Regions from separate parts of the Homo sapiens genome. Here regions 1 and 3 are each linked to region 2. Evidence: promoter capture Hi-C in 16 types of primary human blood cells and fetal thymus (Javierre and others, 2016). All regions are on one chromosome and are shown on one strand. The core of a region is centred on a gene start or on the middle of the fragment in contact, and the rest is flanking DNA. Distances in the headings are between cores, read along the strand shown.

What was found. The method cuts DNA at HindIII sites, captures the fragments that hold promoters and counts their contacts. A CHiCAGO score of 5 or more calls a contact.
Region 1: a fragment that was not itself captured here is called in contact with the fragment with the promoter of EML5 in region 2 in 1 of 17 cell types (fetal thymus); the score reaches 10.5 in fetal thymus.
Region 3: a contact is called between a fragment that was not itself captured here and the fragment with the promoter of EML5 in region 2, in 2 of 17 cell types (non-activated CD4 T cells and activated CD4 T cells). The highest score is 6.2, in non-activated CD4 T cells.

What each region holds. Positions count from the first base shown.
Region 1 is chr14:89,940,183-89,943,047 of GRCh38, forward strand. All of the region lies in intron 3 of EFCAB11 (EF-hand calcium binding domain 11), which reads right to left. Among named protein-coding and RNA genes, the nearest start is that of EFCAB11, 13 kb to the right of the region's middle. The HindIII fragment of the contact is 1,862 bases long and covers 456-2,317 here.
Region 2 is chr14:88,791,667-88,794,627 of GRCh38, forward strand. It overlaps EML5 (EMAP like 5), which reads right to left and starts at 1,287. Exons shown (of 44, transcript NM_183387.3): 1 at 641-1,287. The coding sequence starts at 837. RefSeq lists silencers at 798-877, 1,068-1,427. The HindIII fragment of the contact is 21,479 bases long and covers 1-2,961 here.
Region 3 is chr14:89,961,821-89,965,032 of GRCh38, forward strand. TDP1 (tyrosyl-DNA phosphodiesterase 1) reads left to right here. Exons shown (of 17, transcript NM_018319.4): 3 at 1,288-1,853. The coding sequence starts at 1,295. Among named protein-coding and RNA genes, the nearest start is that of TDP1, 7.5 kb to the left of the region's middle. RefSeq lists an enhancer at 1,056-2,255. The HindIII fragment of the contact is 1,634 bases long and covers 490-2,123 here.

The sequences.
Region 1 (2,865 bases), core at 137-2,636, 1.1 Mb after region 2:
AAAATGCTACGATTATAATTTCAAAATAAGGTAACCTTAATGTGTATGCAGTTTCCTGATTATAGAAAAGAACTAAGAAGCCAATTGAAATCTGAAATCAACCAAAACCTTCATCCCTGCTATACCCTGATCTTTGTTCCATAGGAGCCAAAATAAAAAACCATACACAACAGCAGGTGTTTTATGACAGAAACTAAGACCAGAAAAAGGATATTTAAATTTAGAAAAATAATACCTTTAATAGTCAACTGTCTTGTTTAGAACAAGCCAGACAAGATATTAATAAATAAAAGCATGCAAGCCAACTGACCATTAACCTACTCATCCACAAATTATTTTTCAATTGGACCTTACACTGGATAGCAGTCACACAGTCCATAATTACTGCTATGATGAATCAATCGCTTTGATTTTTCCATCATTCAAAGTTGAGGGTTAAAAGTAAGTTCCTGGAAAGCTTTTTCAAGTATCAAAGTAGAATATGTTCATTAATTTAAAATGGCAATAGTATAAGGAAACAGAAAAGATGCTCAATCTAATCGCCTAGTGAAAACAAAATTCTGAAGTCCTTTTTTCTGGTTTTTAATCTTAGGCATATTTTACATAGATCCGAGATAATAACAAAGAGACAAATGTATGAGGATTCAGTGGGACAATGCTCATTCAGTTCTTATTTATAGCTTTTAGCATAAAGAAAAGCCCTGTAAATCTTAGCTGTTGTTATTTATATAGAATGATCTACAATTTATTCTGGAATAAAGTCAGACCACCTGAGATATGTATACTTGGAACACACAGCCTTTGCCCTTCATAGAATTGCCCTGACATTAAACACTGGTCTACATTGAGAAAAGATGAAGCAACAGCCTTACAAAATTCACTACTGCATTTATTGAACAGCTCATCGACACTGACATCCACTCAGCAGCCTCCCCTCCATGAGACATCACAGAAGAACTATCCCAGGGCAGGAGGACTTATGCCTCTCTAGAAAAATTGTTTTGTTGCATGGACCCTGACTGCAGCTGTGCTTGCTCGTGTTTTCCTATTTGTTCTGGATGCTAGGTAGTCCAGAACCAAATTTGAAATTAATGCCTAACAACTATAGAGAACATGGTGATTTGTTTTTCGTGTATTGATTCTACTCCTGACTTCAACTCATTGATTCATAAAGTTCCTTAGGGGAATGAATACTGGCCTCGATTTTGTCACAATTAGGAGTATGACCCATGGCACTATTAAAAATCAAAGGAAGGGCTCATCAATTGGTTAAGAGGGTGAGCTAGAAGGTCGGATCACGTTGGTCTGGTACTTACTAGCTACCGGTGCCACTCTGGGCAAATTATTTAATCTTGCTAGGCTTCTGGATTTATTTATTTTTTATTTTTAAACTTTTTAGTACTTTTTTTTTTTTTCAGAGATATGGTCTTGCTCTGTTGCCCAGGCTGGTCTCAAACTCCTGGACTCAAGTGATCTTCCCACCTCAGCCTCCCAAGTAGCTGGGAATATAGGTGCATACCGCCATGAATGGCCAGAGTTTTTTAACTTCTAAAATGGGGATAGCCAGGCACAGTGGCTCATGCCTGTAATCCCAGCACTTTGGGAGGCTAAGGTGGGAGGATCACTTGAGCCCAGGAGTTAGAGACCCTGTCTCAAAAATAATCATCTAAAATGATAAATAAAATATAATGAGGATAATATGGTTTGGCTCTGTGTCCTTACCCTACCCAAATCTCATCTCGAATTGTAATCCCTGTCAGGGCAGGGGCCTGGTGGGAGGTGACTGAATCATGAGGGCTGACTTCCCCCTTGTTGTTCTCACCAGATCTGGTTGTTTGAAAGAGTGTGTCAATTCCCCGTTCACTCTCTCTCTCTCCTGCCACCATGGGAAGAAGGTCTTTGCTTCACCTTTGCCTTCTGCCATGATTCTAAGTTTCCTGAGGCCTCCCCAGTCATGCTTCCTGTTAAGTCTGTGGAACTGTGAGTCAATTAAACCTCTTTATAAATTACTCAGTCTCAGGTAGTTCTTTATAGCAGTGTGAAAATGGACTAATACAGAGGATAATCATAATATCATAGTTACATTAAATATAACAATCATCACAGATGAATGTGCTCATCACAGATCTGCATGATAACTGTTCAGGAAATGATTGCTGCAATTATCTATAATAATAATAAATACTGTAAAAGGATTTTGCCAAGTATTTATTATTTTATTATTCCTCTATATCATTTTGTGATTCTTCTCTGAAGCCTAGGTTCCTCATTTTAAAATAAGGACAGATGACTGTTTTCCAGGTCTCTTCTAGTTGCAAGCTTCTTCATTCTATACACTTGGAAAAGTTATGAAGTGCATCACAGAGAATGAGGGTTATAATGAAACCCTCTGAAAGAGGTAGCAAGACTATAAATCAGAACCAACCTCAACTGTGATCTGCCGCTTCCTTTAACTAATGGCTTGATTTTTTTCTCCCACTCATATATTTCCTTGTTTCAAGCAGCCACAACAGTTTTTGCTTATATTCACTTGCTTGTTAGGTTACAGGCAATAAAAACATCATTAGCACCTTTCTGCTACTCACCCTGGCTGCCCTCAAATTCTCCCAGCATGTACACTTCTTCCAGATACTTTACTCTTATTTCTACTAGCTTTGACTTAACTTTTCACTCTTCTTAATTTTCACGAGGAAATCTCTATTGAAATGACCTACTTTTCAAGAGGATTCGAAGCCCTTGGGAAGCAGGGCCTGGGCATCCAGGTTTAGGTATAATCCCGAACCCAAAGTGCAGGGTGTCTAGCTTCCGGACTCTGGCCCTTCCTAAAAGCAGCTGAGTCTGGGCCAACCTAGAATGTGAGTCTGA
Region 2 (2,961 bases), core at 37-2,536:
GAAATCAGTGAAGTTTTCAGCAGCCTCTTCAGATAAGACCTACCTTAAATTGCCTTCAGGTGTGCACATTTTAACATCCAGTGAATTGCCTGGAGGTTGCCTGGGGTTTCTGCTGATTATAGCAGGCGGTGAAACCTGAACTAATAATTACGGCCAGGAGGTGAGAGCCCTTCAGGACGCCACCCTGGGCGCGCTCCCCGGGAGCAGCCCACCGCTTGCTGTGCTTCCATCAGTCCTTTATTAGGTAAAGGGTTTCCCCCCACCCCGGGTGCTTTAAGAATGCGTTTAATAAGAAATTTCTCACAGGATCTAACGGAATAAAGTGCCACCAAAATAACCTTTTCGCAGTTTTCGTAATTGTGATGGAGTGGGAAAGGGGACAAAGCCGTCAAACCGGGTGCCCGGTGGATCCGCGGACCTGATCTTCCTGCACGGACCCGAGAGAGAGTCCCTAGACGAGGAAGAGGGGAAAGGCATTTGTAGGGTGTTAACTGGTGGACTCGGGACCAGAGAGACAGCTGCGGATTCCCCTCGGGGTGATGCTCCGTGCAGGAGCGGTCACGGCGTCCAGAGGAACCCGCGGGTGCAAACTCCGGGAGCGGCTTGCAGGGTGACGGCGGCGGCCCCCGCTCCCCGGTACCTGATGATGTCGTCGCTGTGGCCCCGGTAGAACTTCTGCCTGTGCTCCCGCGGGCTGTACACCACGCCGACCCCCGCCACGAAGTATACGATCTCCTTGGCCGCAGTGTAGTAGAGGTTGTTGCGGCACTGGTGGCCCCGGTAGCCGTACACCCACTCGAGCCGCAGGTGGCAGCTCGGGGCGCTCCGGGCCGCCATGTCGGGGCGCCCACCCGCCGCTCCCGCTCGGGCCCGCGGCGGCGACGGGAGGCGGCGGCGGCCCGGCAACGAAAGCCCTCCCGCTGGCTGCCGGGACTTCCCGCCAGCCGCGTCCTCTAAGCCGCGCCCGTCAGGTGCATCTCGTTTCGGGGGCCGCCGCCGCCTCAGCCCACAGGCGGGAGGAAAACCCTCGCCTCGCGGAACATGCTGAGGGCCGCGAGCGCCGCCGGCTGTCAAGTGGATGCCCAGAGCCCTTCGCCCGCCTCGGCTCGCCTAGTCTCCTCAGCCCGTAGCGCCTGGGCCGAGAGCGAGGGCCCGCCTCCAGCTCCTCAGCCGCCGCCCGCGCACGCAGCTCCCAGCCCCGGTCACCTGCGGCGCTCGCGCCCCGCCGCGGCTTTGTAGCCACAGCCTGGCGGACCCGCGCCGCGCACCCCGAAACCGAGCGAGCCGAGCCGAGCCGAGCCGAGCGGCGGGCGCGCGGCCTTGCGTGGCCCCGCCCCCTCCCGCGCTCACTCCGCCCCTCCCGGAGCCGAGAAGAGGCTGGAGTTCGCGGGGCCACGGTCTAGTTGCGGAGTCGCTGGGACCGCGTCTCTGCAAGTGCGCGGGCCGGTGAGCCCTCCCTCGTTGAGCTGCTTAAGCCCAGGCGGACCCTCGGCGACCCCGGGCTCCCGCTGCTTTGCGTCCTCAACCGGGAAGCACCTGCCGGTTCCGCACGGTCCCTGCACCCAGCGTAGGCCACGTTTTTGCCTGGGAAAATCCACACCGGGATGCTAAATTCTCTTTTTTACGCTTGATACCTTGTGTGTCTTGCTGCCTTATAGTGCTTTCGGACCCAGACATTGGAATGATGCCGAGCTTCCTAAATGTGCTTTTAAATTATTATTTTTAGAAACAGAGCCTCGCTCTGTCGCCCAGGCTGGAGTGGAGTGGCGCAGTCTCAGCTCACTGTAGCCTCCAACTCCTGGGCTCCAGCGATCCTCCCGCCTCAGTCTCCGGAGTAGTAAGGAGTACAGTTGCGTACCACTATGCCCGGCAAATGTTTTGCTTTGTTTTTAAGTTTATTTTGTAGAGGCGGGGGTCTTGCTGTGTTGCCCAGGCTGGTCTCCACCTCCTGACCTTCAGCAGTTCTTCTGCCTCAGGCCTCCCAAAGCGCTGGGATTACAGGCCCAATCCACTGCTCCTGGTCCTAAGTGTATGTTTTCTTAAGTGACCGCAAAGCTGAAGGTAGACTTTAGATGGTAAACTGACATGTGAGATCTGATTTCCGAATAGCAAAAAAAAAAAAAATTGTACTTCGATTTTTTTAAAAATGACTGGGACATCACCAACAGTTACTCTTAATTAAATAAATTCAATTGTGATCCTGTAGAAAACTCCTGTAATAAAAGTATTGGGAACAATCAATTCCTGACTATGTCATTTCCCCTCCTACTCAGTTGTGTCCTCTTCTCACAGGAATATGAACAAGATTTATCAATACCTCTAAAAATAATTGGAAATCCACAATTTAAAAAGTGTTAAGTTCAGGATGGCCACAAGATTTACAACAAAAAAATACTAATTCAGGATATACCAATATGAACCCTTATTGTCTAAAAATTACTGTTTGATTTCCATAGGAAATACCAAGACAGAAATCTGACAAAAGCTAAAATAAACTACCATCGTTTCAAGAAATATGACTCCAAAAGGGGTTGACTCCTGTGTGGTACAGATATATTGGAATAGATGTTATCCAATGTCTACTTCCTCAAAGATGCCAGTTACTAACTTGAGACAGGATTACCGTTTCGTCTTTGATTATGACTTCTAATCTGCAAGCAGTTTACATGCAGGAAATAAAGGCCATCTGAAAGGAATTTACATAGATGTCATGAAAAGTAAACTCTGAAAGAGTTTCCATTCTGGGCAGAATCTGAAAAAGAGGAATAGCTTTCTGGCAGCTGCTGCAAATAAACAAAGAAATCAGGCCTGAGAAGTGGCTCTAAGGCCCATGTAGGGTACCCTGGGCAAAAGCACACACAGTTTCTCTTTGTCACCAGGAGGGCGTTTTCTGTTTTTTAATAAGAATATGTTCTAATTCACTAGTGAGTTCCTTGAAATCCCCTGGTGAGAAAAAGAAAA
Region 3 (3,212 bases), core at 57-2,556, 1.2 Mb after region 2:
CATCTTGGTTTACTCCACTCAATGCATCTTTTCCAGCCTCATTAAAACAGCAGAAACTCGAAGATACTGTTGATCTGAGCACAGACTACTGAGTTTTGTAATTTTCCCCTGGGTCTTGTGCTAAAATGTTAAAAGTATCACATTGAGGAACTGTTCTTTAGCTGTCTGGAAAGTCTACTTAGATAGTCCTTTACCACTGAATTGACAAGATTTGGTAGGTAACAGCAAAAGTGACTGTTTCGTGTACTTTCCTGTTCTCAGAACAAGAAAGTAGAATTTGACTGTGGGGCTTAAAAAATAAAAGTGTGTTGCTTCAGTACAAGTTATTTCTGTGTAGGTGTTAGTAGATTTATGATGTAGCCAATAGGATAATTATATCTTGATATAATTATATCCAACTAATTATAATTAGTTGGGTCCTCATGGAAGTAGTGTAAATAATGTACATACCTAAGTGGTCATTTGGCTTTCCTCTTGAAGACTTTGTTAAGCTTTATGGTAAATGGGTTGTCTTTTGGGAAGTAAGACATACATAATCACTGAAGTCCTGTGGGTGCCTGTACTTGGGTGAAGGCTAGGTTTGTAAATTCCAATTTGACCTTAAGCATTTGAACATAGATTAAATGGACCTTAATCCCAAACGCTTATTGGAAGTTTCGGGGTCAAGAATGAATGTTTGTTTTATTTTGGCATTTGTCTTGATGCATTCTTCAACCCCCTTTCCTAGGACATCTAAGAACAAAGTTTAGATTGAAAGCCAAGGCCAGGCATGGTGGCTTATACTTGTAATCCCAGCACTTTGGAAGGCCAAGGTGGGTGGATCTCTTGAGTCCAGGAGTTCAAGGCCAGCCTGGGCAACAATAATGAAACCCTGTCTCTACCAAAAAAAAAGAAAAAAAAAATTAGCCAGACGTGATGGCGTGCACCTGTAGTTCCAGCTATTCGAGAGGATGAGGCAGGAGGATTGCTTGAGCCCAGGAGGCAGATGTTGCAGTCAGCTGAGATTGAACCACTGCACCACTCCAGCTGGGTGACAGAGCGAGACCCTGTTTCAAAAAAAAAAAGGAAGAAAAAAGAAAGGTGACCAGGACTTTTGCTTGTGATTTGGCAGAATCTGATAGTGGATTCTGGTAATGTGCTTATAAACACCCAAAAAGCAGCTGATGTTAGGTGGTTCAGCCTCTGGAAGGTGTCAGCTCATCTGACAGGGAAGTTGAGAGCAATAAAGTTATTTTGCCAATGCCCTGATGAATGGGAAATGCTGATGTTTCCACTTTTCATTTCCAGGAGTATAATGTCTCAGGAAGGCGATTATGGGAGGTGGACCATATCTAGTAGTGATGAAAGTGAGGAAGAAAAGCCAAAACCAGACAAGCCATCTACCTCTTCTCTTCTCTGTGCCAGGCAAGGAGCAGCAAATGAGCCCAGGTACACCTGTTCCGAGGCCCAGAAAGCTGCACACAAGAGGAAAATATCACCTGTGAAATTCAGCAATACAGATTCAGTTTTACCTCCCAAAAGGCAGAAAAGCGGTTCCCAGGAGGACCTCGGCTGGTGTCTGTCCAGCAGTGATGATGAGCTGCAACCAGAAATGCCGCAGAAGCAGGCTGAGAAAGTGGTGATCAAAAAGGAGAAAGACATCTCTGCTCCCAATGACGGCACTGCCCAAAGAACTGAAAATCATGGCGCTCCCGCCTGCCACAGGCTCAAAGAGGAGGAAGACGAGTATGAGACATCAGGGGAGGGCCAGGACATTTGGGACATGCTGGATAAAGGGAACCCCTTCCAGTTTTACCTCACTAGAGTCTCTGGAGTTAAGCCAAAGTATAACTCTGGAGCCCTCCACATCAAGGGTAAGAGGATGCTGGGTGTCAAGGAGCTGTTGAATTGCCCTTGAGAGTCTCTCCTCCGTGAAACAAGGAGGGCAGCCTAGAATAGTTTCTGAGAACTCTTCTTTGTGTTCTTAACTACTTTCAGGAAAAAAATTCTTGACAGGCAAGTGCATTAGTATAACAGCAGACTGTTTACTTAACTCAGGCAGAGCGTGTGTTCTCAAAACCCTGTAGCTCAACCCCTTATATCACTTAGCACGATGTTTAGCATTATTTAACTTTTTAAGATGAAGCTTGATGAGTAACAGTTTATCAACAAGGTAGCAAATACTTGACAACAGTAGTAGTTCTCCATGGGCCCTGGACCAGCAGCCTCAGCATCACCTGCAACTTGTTAAAATGCAAATTCTCGGGCCCCATTCCCGATTCATTAAATTGGACTCTGAGGGTGAGATCCTGCAGTCTGTGTTTTCACGAGCCCTTGAGGGGATTCTACTGCCCAGTCAAGTTTGAGAACCACTGCTTAAAAGCCTGGTTTTAGTTCCTGGTGAAGAAGAAGAAGAAAAAACAAAATAGTGCCTGAGTGCAAATAGATGTTTCAGTTATGGATCAAAAGATGGCCTTAGTTTGCTCTCCTTATTCCTCAGGGAGCACCTGCAGGAGGAAGAGCAGGAGCTCTAGAATCTGCTTTCTGGCCTCACCACTCATTTGCTGTATGGATTGTTAACACAGGACCTAACATTCTCTGAATTTTAGTTTGCTCATCTTTAAACTGGAAATGCAGAAAAATGGGAGCAAATATATGAAGTAACCAGTGTAATATATTCACATGGCAGATACAATAAACATTATTACCCTTATTTCAGATTTTTTTCCTGTCCCATATTTAAGAATAGTAATGTTCACTGTCAGCAGTGTTGTTCTTTTTTTATATATCCAGTATATAATTGTATATTGTGTGTGATGTATACATGTTGGAGTATTTCATACTGTAGAGTGTTCTACAGGTTGTTTTCTTTTTGAGAATCTCTTATCTTGGTACTTTGTCAAGTTTTTTGTTTGTTTGAGACAGACTGACAAATATTTAGAGAATTTTGCCAAGTTTTGCTCTATATAATAAAATAACCGGCAATTAGCACCAAGGTATTGTGGTAACATGATAGGAGCTCTTACATATATTTTCTCCTTTAATCCTCAGGACAGTCTTATGAGTAGATGTTACAATCGTATTCCTTGGATAAATGATGCATCTGCACTTTAGAAAAGTGCCCAAGGTCGTAGAGCTGGTAATGACATTCTGGCATCAGAATCCATGCTGTTTGCTATAGCACTCTACCATGTGCCATAATTGTAGATGGCTTAGAAGATCTCATGGAGGAA